2 separate regions of the Homo sapiens genome follow, and region 1 is linked to region 2. Evidence: promoter capture Hi-C in human tissues and cell types (Jung and others, 2019). All regions are on one chromosome and are shown on one strand. The core of a region is centred on a gene start or on the middle of the fragment in contact, and the rest is flanking DNA. Distances in the headings are between cores, read along the strand shown.

Evidence for each region. Contacts are between HindIII fragments. The study calls those that stand out against the background at their distance.
Region 1: a fragment that was not itself captured here is called in contact with the fragment with the promoter of ZNF662 in region 2 in 1 of the 25 tissues and cell types used here (bladder).

What each region holds. Positions count from the first base shown.
Region 1 is chr3:43,296,706-43,301,010 of GRCh38, reverse strand. SNRK (SNF related kinase) reads right to left here. Exons shown (of 7, transcript NM_017719.5): 2 at 1,196-1,257. Among named protein-coding and RNA genes, the nearest start is that of SNRK, 12 kb to the right of the region's middle. The HindIII fragment of the contact is 3,494 bases long and covers 1-3,366 here.
Region 2 is chr3:42,904,112-42,908,825 of GRCh38, reverse strand. It overlaps ZNF662 (zinc finger protein 662), which reads right to left and starts at 2,684. Exons shown (of 5, transcript NM_207404.4): 1 at 2,658-2,684; 2 at 678-804; 3 at 1-33. The coding sequence starts at 711. The HindIII fragment of the contact is 13,922 bases long and covers 1-4,714 here.

The DNA.
Region 1 (4,305 bases), core at 370-2,869, 390 kb before region 2:
TTTTGAGGCACAGTAACTTGGCCTAGGCCAAATGGCCAGTGTGTAAAAGAGCTGGGACTGAAACCCACGGCTGTCTGACACCAAAGTCCGTGCTTTAAAACACTATGCTACGCTGTGTCTGCAAACTGATTTCAGAACCAAAACTATTAATCCTGCTATTAAGATTTTTAAACTATTAAGATTTTTAAATAAGAAACTGATACAATGCCTAGGTGTGTGTGGGGGGAAGCAAATTTCTTCCATATGTATATTATCCCTGTCATCTGAACTAATAACTTTAATGACAGGATTAACAGGAAAATCCAAATTGAAAGACCTTGCTTTATTTGGACAGCAGTTCCCCAAAAGAAATTTTAATTTGGGTATATTTAATTTTCAAATATAAAAACTCTGGGGGGGGGGCAGGAAACTATCTTTAAATATTTAACTTCAATTAATTACAAGGGCAATAATTATGCTTAAAATTCCACCCAAGTCTGTTGCTATTGCATAAGCTTGCAAATGCCACTTTAGCTTTCAAAACACATTCCTTCAGGCTGCCCCCAAGTTATATAACTTTGTTCTTTTCATCTATCATTTTAGTTTAGATGTGTTCCTGGAAAGTGACATATAAATCAGATTTTATAAATGAATCTGATTTTTGAAAATAAAAGTTTTATTACAAAAATAAATGAAAAAGCTTTTTTTTCAGAGCCTCAGACACCTAGAGATAAGTACTATTAAACCCTAATGTTTCTCTTCCCAAACCTTTGCCAGCAAGAGGGCACAGTGAAATGATTTTTAATCTATAGCAAGCTATAGATTAAATAGAAATAATCTAATTGGTATCTTCACAATGAGTACCCTATAGTGAAACAATCACTCTTACTACCAAATAATTTACTTTTTATATGAGCACCCCTTTTCCATAGTCTATGAAACCACAATTAAATTGTATAGCTAAGAACAGGACACAATGATTAACTGAAAGTTTAGACGAAAAATATCCTTGTTCCTGAACATCTTTTTAAACACTAGTCTACTGTCTAATCCTACTATTAAGTACATTTTGAGTTAGAGTACAAAGTAACTAAATCATTTTTTTTGATCTCTGAGGATCTTGCAGCTCCCAAAAGTCATTCTGAACATCAATGCCCAATGTTAAGATGTGGCTTATATAAAGTAAAGGTGAATTTGTACTGTCTCCAAGACATACCCTGCAAACTGCATACTGAATAATCCTTATTATCACAGTGTTTTGTTAGTTGCTTCTTTTTCCTAAAAGAAAATAAAGAAAAAGATACAGGTTTAGTTCTATTTGTTTGAATTTTGCTTAAAGTCAAAGTATATACTCTAAGGCTGGATCTAGACACATGTATAAAAATAGTAAAATTTGTCTTTAGTAACCCAGTCTCCTATTATCCTTCTGCCTTCTGTGAATTACAACTCCTTTAAGCGAAATTTAATAAACAGGGATTTCAGAGTGAACAGAGATTGTTCCAGGTAGACAGGTCAGAAAAATTATTCCACTGGAATGAAGAAATAATAATGAACAAGGCCGGGTGCGGTGGCTCACGCCTGTAATCCCAGCACTTTGGGAGGCCGAGACAGGTGGATCATGAGGTCAGGAGCTCAAGACTTGCCTGACCAATATGGTGAAACCCCGTCTCTACTAAAAATACAAAAATTAGCCAGGCGTGGAGGCGGGCGCCTGTAATCCCAGCTACTCAGGAGACTGAGGCAGGAGACTTGCTTGAACCCAGGAGGCGGAGGTTGCAATGAGCCGAGATGGCGCCATTGCACTCCAACCTGGGTGACAAAGCGAGACTCCATCTCAAAAATAATAATAATAATGAACAACAGTACAATTGCCATTTTTAAAATGCCTCTTGCAACAGGCCCCGAACTCACATTTCACTGAATCCTCCCCATGAAACTGCATAGTAGGTACAATGAGGCTTAACTTGCCTGTGAAGCAGCAGTCTCTAGCTCCAATCATGCTCAGCCTGGCACCAAAACCACCCAGTCTCTAGGAGCCCCTAAAGGCTCATGAAACCCTCACGCTATAGCAGCCAAGGACGGCAAGCTTTACAACACACTGTCCTCTAGAAGGCAAGTGGAAATCACTTATGATGCCAGCATTAGGGATCACACAAAGCACCTTCATCATCCGAGGACTGTCACTTGATAGTAACAAAGAAACTATCACCACAAACAAAAGGAATGTGAGCAAATCACTTATATCCAAACTTCATGGCACAATGAGGGAATACTGACCAAGGTAGCCTTGCAGGTCTTCCCATGAAAATAAACTATTACATGAATAACAGAGAGGCCTAAACATTCACATTATGCCAACATGATAATTTACACTATACACTAATGGTGAGAGGTGTCCAGGTAAAGTTCAAATGCACTTGGGAGAAAAGGAGTGCAAGGGAATGGAGGAAACAAGATAGGACAGGTGAAAGGACGAGGAAAGGTGGTTGACCTCTGGATATGAAAGCAAGTGTCCTGCCAGGAATGAGGGAATGTGGAGCAACAGTTCTGCAGCACACACAGGGCTGGCAAAGCCATGGGCACAGGTCCATATCTAGTGACAGATGAACCCTGGGATGCCTACCTGACTGGTTCTTCAGCTCCAAGAGGGATATAGTAGCTCCTTCCACTATCCTTGCCTGCTTCTCTTTTTCCAGCAGCCCCTGTTTCATCCCTAGTCTCTGTGGCAAAGCAGTGCGGTAGTACAGTAATAAGTACTGGTTCTAAAGACCAACAACTGCATTTGAATCCCAGCTCACCAATCACTAGCCAAAGGAACTCAGCAAGTTACCTTCACCTCTCTGTATGGTCAGTTTCTTCATTAGAAAATGTTAGTAATAAGAAAACAATCTCATAAGATATGGTGAGGATCAAACGACTTAATATAGGTAAAGTGTTTAGAATAGTGCCTGGCACAGAGTAAGCATTCTGTAAATACCAGCTACCACCACCACCATCATTGTTACAGACGACGTTCCCACCATCCAAGCAGAAATTCTTTCAGTTGCTGACCCTACTTCAAGCGAATGAATTCACCAAACTATTATCTCTCTTTTGCTTTCATAAGATAGACCAGTTCAGAAACTGAACTGCTGTTCAGTTTCCTAAAATAAATTGAAAATGAGTGCTGTAAGGTATAGGAAATAATGTCTCTAGTTAGGCATCAAAGACTGGGGGTTTTTCAATAAAATATCTCACAAAATGTAAGTATTTGCTTTTAAAATGATATTAATATAATTTTCTATCAAATTTAGCTTTTCAAAAAGGACTTAATACTCCTTTACATTTTTTCACATCAAATATATTCTTACAGAAAATCTCAAAAACAATTATGAAAGAAAAATCTGTTTAATTCAGGAGAAAACTACAATTAGAACATACAGACTAGTAAAAAAGGGGGGGAGGAATTTTGAAAAAAAAATCCATTATCCCACCCTTTATGATAACATCGCTTTACATTTTGGTATAGATTCTTTCAAATTATTTTCTATTCATAATATATGGCCAGACACAATTTTAAAAAATAAAATGGGGATAATACTTACGGGCTTGGGGGGATGTCAGGGTAAAAAGAGATTTGTAACTATTTTCACAATACTTCTCTCCAAAAAACAAGCTGGAAAAGTTAATACAAGACTTTCACTTTAGAAAGTTTAGAAAATGCATAAAAGCACAAAGAAGAAAGTAAAAATCACCTATACGCTCATCTATGATGACTTCTCATCAGGTCCGAGTGTACATCCTCTATACTTAACAGTTCTTTACAAAGCTAAGATTTTCGACATGAAGTTTGATAACTACTTTTTCCTCTATTTTATAAACTGAACATTTTCCCATGCACTAAGTTCTTCTAGATCAATATTTTAAATGACTATACAGCTAAGATAACATGTCTTTACACAGCAACCACTAGATAGGCCATTCTAGAGCAACCTTTTTATTTAGCACAGGCATATAACTAGGCTGGACCTAAATGAAATAGGCCAACTTGCCAAGAGTGCTCATAATATAAAAACTTATGTCTGAGAAACAAGTACTGTTATGTGCTGCAAGAATATACTGATGTTCTCCTACTGAAGACAGCAGAAGCAACTGAAGCATGTGGGTGTGGCTGGAGAAGAGGAAGGAAGTGTGGGTGGCCCTACACACGTTTTGCAAGCTGCTGAAAACAGTTGTAGAACCAGCTTCTGTTAAACCTACTATCAATTTGGAATTCACCCTGTTATTCTTGTTAAAACTCACTTTTAGGTTTTCATCAACATCATCACCATTGCAGTCTCATCTGTA
Region 2 (4,714 bases), core at 1,435-3,934:
AAATCAGAGCCGGTTTGGGAAATGGAAATGCTGCTTAAAAGGAAAGAAATGGGACAGGCAGGTGAGTGGCATGGCACACAGTAATCCCAAGGCTCCTCCCAGGCCAGTGTCTTCAGGGGTAGGAGGGGAAAAAAACGGAAATAACTAGGAAGAACAAGAAAAGGAATTCCAGGGGAAAGGACAAGAGAGGGGCCAGGAGACTTACAAAGGTCAGGAAGTTGACAGACGACTCAGTAACTGTTTGAGTCAGCAAATGGATGATTTCACTCATTGAGGAATTGAGTCCTCAATTCTTACCTGTCCTCTCCCTCTTAGAGCTCTCAAGTTCAGACATCCTCATGAGGATGCTTGGAATTAGGCTGGATCTTGCAAACCGAGAGGGGAGGGAACTGAAGGCTCAGTGGAGCACCATGAATTTGCTCTCTTCTCACTATACCCACAACACAAGGGTAGGGGTTTGGCACCTCTCACTCTGGAGCAAGGAAGTCCTGTATAAGGCCCAAACTGATACCAGGACTTCCTACTTTCCAACGGCTGCTGAGGTTAGGTCATTAAAAATCCAAGAGCCTGAAGCTGCCATTGAGCTGAGGGTTATCAACAACTCCTGAGCCTTTGAGAAAAAAGGAGCCAGCAAACTCTCAAGGGTGGAGGCAGGGCCCAAAGGGAGAGACCCTTACCCAGGGAAGCCACAGCCCCATAATTCTCCAGCATCACATCCCTGTACAGGGCTCTCTGAGCAGGGCCCAGGCCGATCCATTCGTTCTCAGAGAAGTAGACGGCCACATCCTCGAAGGTCACTGACTCCTGAAACAACATGTGTTTAAATGCCCTAGGACAACCCCAGGACCAGGCCAAGAGGAAGGGGAGACAGGGCATCAAAAGGTACTGTGGGGGTGCCTGTGGGGATTCTGGATTCTGAATGTCTACAGGAACTCTATCAGCAGAAGATTTTTGCCTCCTATGTACAAAGAGACAAGGCATCAGCCATCAATTTTCTCATGTCTCTTCATCTTTATTTCAGCAAACATTTTCTCCTCTTTTTCATGAGTCTGCAAAAGTTTTCTTGTTTCATCCTTATACCCCAAACCACATCTGTGCTCTAGGTCCCATCCTCTCTCCACAATGTGTCCTCCTTCAGAGGTCACCCACCCTTGATAACAACTATCATTTATTAAGCCTGTGCCAAGCACTTGACATATATTCTTTGTTATGTCTCATAGCCTACTATCAGATCCGTTTTTTAGAAGAGGAAACTGAGACTCGGAGGGATTAACTTCCCCCAAAGTTCCAGAACTGAGACAGAACCCAGGCCTGTTTGACTCTGGCTCTTGCCTGTTATGCCACACTGCCTTCCGTCCCCATTCCTGCCATCCCTGCTGCCCCTGTATAGGACTCTTCCTCCTTTGTCCTCCCCAGTCACTGCCACCAGCCACAGAGGCAGCTAGGGCTCCTCAGAACATTCAGGTTGCTCTGAACACTGTACTCAACAGGGCAGATCCTCGTTGTGACTTTACTCCCTGCACCCCCACCACCCGCAACACTCTCACAAAGATCCCACCTCACTTGCTTACCCACGTCCCAATCTCCATGTCCCCATTTTCTATATCTCTAGGAGTCTCAGCTCCTGCACCTTCTTTCTCTCATCCTCTTAAGAAACAAATACTGCTGACCTCCAGCCGTTGGGACTTCCCGTAATTCTCAGCCACTGCCTCCTTCAGGGTCTCAGTCTCCACACTGTGGAGGAGCCCATTCTGGTCCACTGCACTTCAGTCCTTGCGCACTAGAAAGTCTCCACAGCTATTTATCCAGCACTCCAGGGCTCCAAGGCTTTGGCTGGCTCAACTTTGTCTGCCTAATAGAGTCCACATTCCTCTGCACTACAGACAATTCCATTCACTACTCACAGACCCAGCTTTCCTGGCCAGGATCATCAGCCACCACCACTCTCATCTCCGATCCTCTCACCATTGCATTGGGAAACCAAACTCTTTCCTCACCCTGTTCTGTGTCCTTGCACCTGCGGCTACTCTTGCCTGAATATCCAGTTCTTCCTTCCTGCTCCTGCATTGCAAATTCCTTTTCAACCTAATACCCAGCTCAAACATAACCAGCTCTGTAAAGGCAGCTCTGAAATTCTGGCCATTCATCGCCCCCGACAGCACTCTGTGCGCTCTGCCCCAGCAGTCGGCTCAACCCCGTGCCGCTGCACGTCTGCTCTCCTTGAGGCTCAGGTCCAGGGGTGTCGACTCCGCTGTGCTGCCTGTCCCTCGAGGCCCCTCACTCTGGGTTGTACCCCCATTTCCCAGCCGCCGCACCACCCCGTCTCCGGGCCTAGAACCCAGGGCAGGGCCAAGACTGCTTCCAGGCTCCGGCCCCGCACTCACCCGGCGCGCCCGGGGCAGCGCGGGCTGTCCCGGGAGCAGCTCGAGGACAAGGCCGAGGCGTGTCCCGCTCGCCAGCGCCACGGCCGCCATAGCCCAGGTCGCCCTCTGGGAAAGCGAGGGCGCGCCAGACCGGACCAGAGGCTGTTGGGGTCGCGGAAGAGCGCTCTGCACCTGGGCAGGCCTGACACGGCTACCCTGCGCCCTGCAGCCACCGGAGTAAGACCCCGACTCCACTCCCTGCCCGCCCCACGCCCGACTCCCCGTGCTCCACACCCGCCAGGCCCCAGCATCCGGGAGGCCGGGGCTCGGGCCGCTCCGGTTGCTCTAGGACGGCGGAGGGCGCCGCATCTCTGTGGTCCTCCTTTCTCGCTCGGGGAGGGAGGGGAGAGCGGTCCGGTTCTCCTGGAGACACGGACGATCCCAGGGACCGCTACCGGGGTAGGGGTGCAGGCGGCTGGGGAGGAATCCTTCCCCTGCGCTCTAGGCCACCCCTTCCTCTCCAGCTCGCTGCACCCTAGGTGGACAGATATTTGCTGATAGGAGGTAGCGGGTACTTCACTAGACTGCACCTGCTCTTTTATCTCTCCTTTTACCAGTTTTTGCATTCCCAGAGCAGACCTGTATTTTATGTCTTTTAACATTCTCATCTTTGTGCCTCTAACATGCGCCCGATGTCTAGCACCTCCTGGGGAGTTATTTCTTTAACTGCCAAGGAATATTTGTAGAATTGTCCACGAAAAGTCAAACTGTAAAATATTTGAAGGGATTTATCCTGAGCCAAATATGAGTGACCATGGCCCGTGCCACAGCCCCAGGAGATCCTGAGAACATGTGCCCAACGTGGTCGGGCTACAACTTGGTTTTACACATTTTAGGAAGACATAAGACATCAATTAATACATGTAAGATGTACGTTGGTTCGGTATGGAAAGGTGGGACAACTGGAAGAGGAGGCTTTCAGGACATAGGTGGATTCAAAGATTTTCTGAGTGGCAATTGGTTGAAAGAGTTAAGTTATTGTATAAAGACTTAGAATCAATAGAAAGGGATGTCTCAGTTAAGATAAGGGCTTGTGGAGACCAAAGTTTTATCATGCAGATGGAGCCTGTAGCAGGCTTCAGAGAATAGACTGCAAATGTTTCTCATCATTATCACACTACCGGATAGTCTGTGAGACTTAAAGAGGCTGTTCTATCAGTCTTAAGGTCTGTGTTGATGTTAATGCTGGTCAGCTGGTCCTGAATTTCAAAAGGTAGGGGAGCATAATGAGCCATGTCCAACTCCTCCTTCCCATTATGGCCTGAACCAGTTTTTCACGTTAACTTTGGAATGCCCTTAGCCAAGAGGAGAGATCCATTCATATGGTCAGAGGGCTTTGAATTTTATTTTTGGCTTACGGAATAAAAGAATGAATAAATGTTGAACCAGTTTTTCAGTTGAAGAAAGTAAGGCCCAAAGAGAGAAAATGGCTTACCTAACATTATGCAACATGCCAGGAAATTAAATTTTTTAAGAAGTGTGAAAATAAAGATTATTCAAATGAGAACAAAGACTATTATTCAGAGCTTGCTATATATGACAAGAGAGTCAGCCCTCATCACTTGCATTCAGCAGACTGAAAGTCAGGCAGAAGAGTGGGGAAAGCTTCACAGTGGAAAAAAGGAATGGCTTCAGGTATTCCCTTATTGGAAGTTGCTGGCATGGGGAAACTACAGGCGGGCTAACTAGAAGCAGGGAATCTTATGTAATTGGTAGGGGGAAATTTTTGGCTTTCTCTGTTTGGTCCTAAGTTGGAAGTAGTATGGGAAAAAGTAGGGAATCTGATAGTTTTTAATCAAATTGCTACCCCATCTCTACAAAAATAAAAAAAGAAAGAAAGAAAGAAATAAAGAAAAATAGCCAGCTCCTGGCTACTCAGAAGTCTGAGATGGGAGGATCACTTGAGCCTGAGAAGTCAAGGCTGCAGTGAGCTGTGATTGCACCATTGCACTCCAGCAAGAACCTGGAAAGAAGAAAGAGAAGAAGAGAAAAGAGAAGAGAAGGAAAGAGGAAGGAAGGAAAGGAGGGAGGGAAAGAAAGAAAGAGTGGGAGGGAGAGAGGGAAAGAAAGAAGAGACGAAGGAAGGAAGGGAAGGAGGGAAAGAGAGAGAGAGAAAGAAAGAAAAAGAGAGAGAAAGAAAAAGAAAGGAAGGAAGGAGAAGGGAAGAAGGAAGGAAGGAAAAGGAAGGGAGGAAGGAAGGAGGGAAGGAAGGAGGGAAGGGAGGGAGAGAGGAAGGAAGGAGAAGGGAAGAAGGAAGGAAGGAAAAGGGAGGGAGGAAGGAAGGAAGGAGG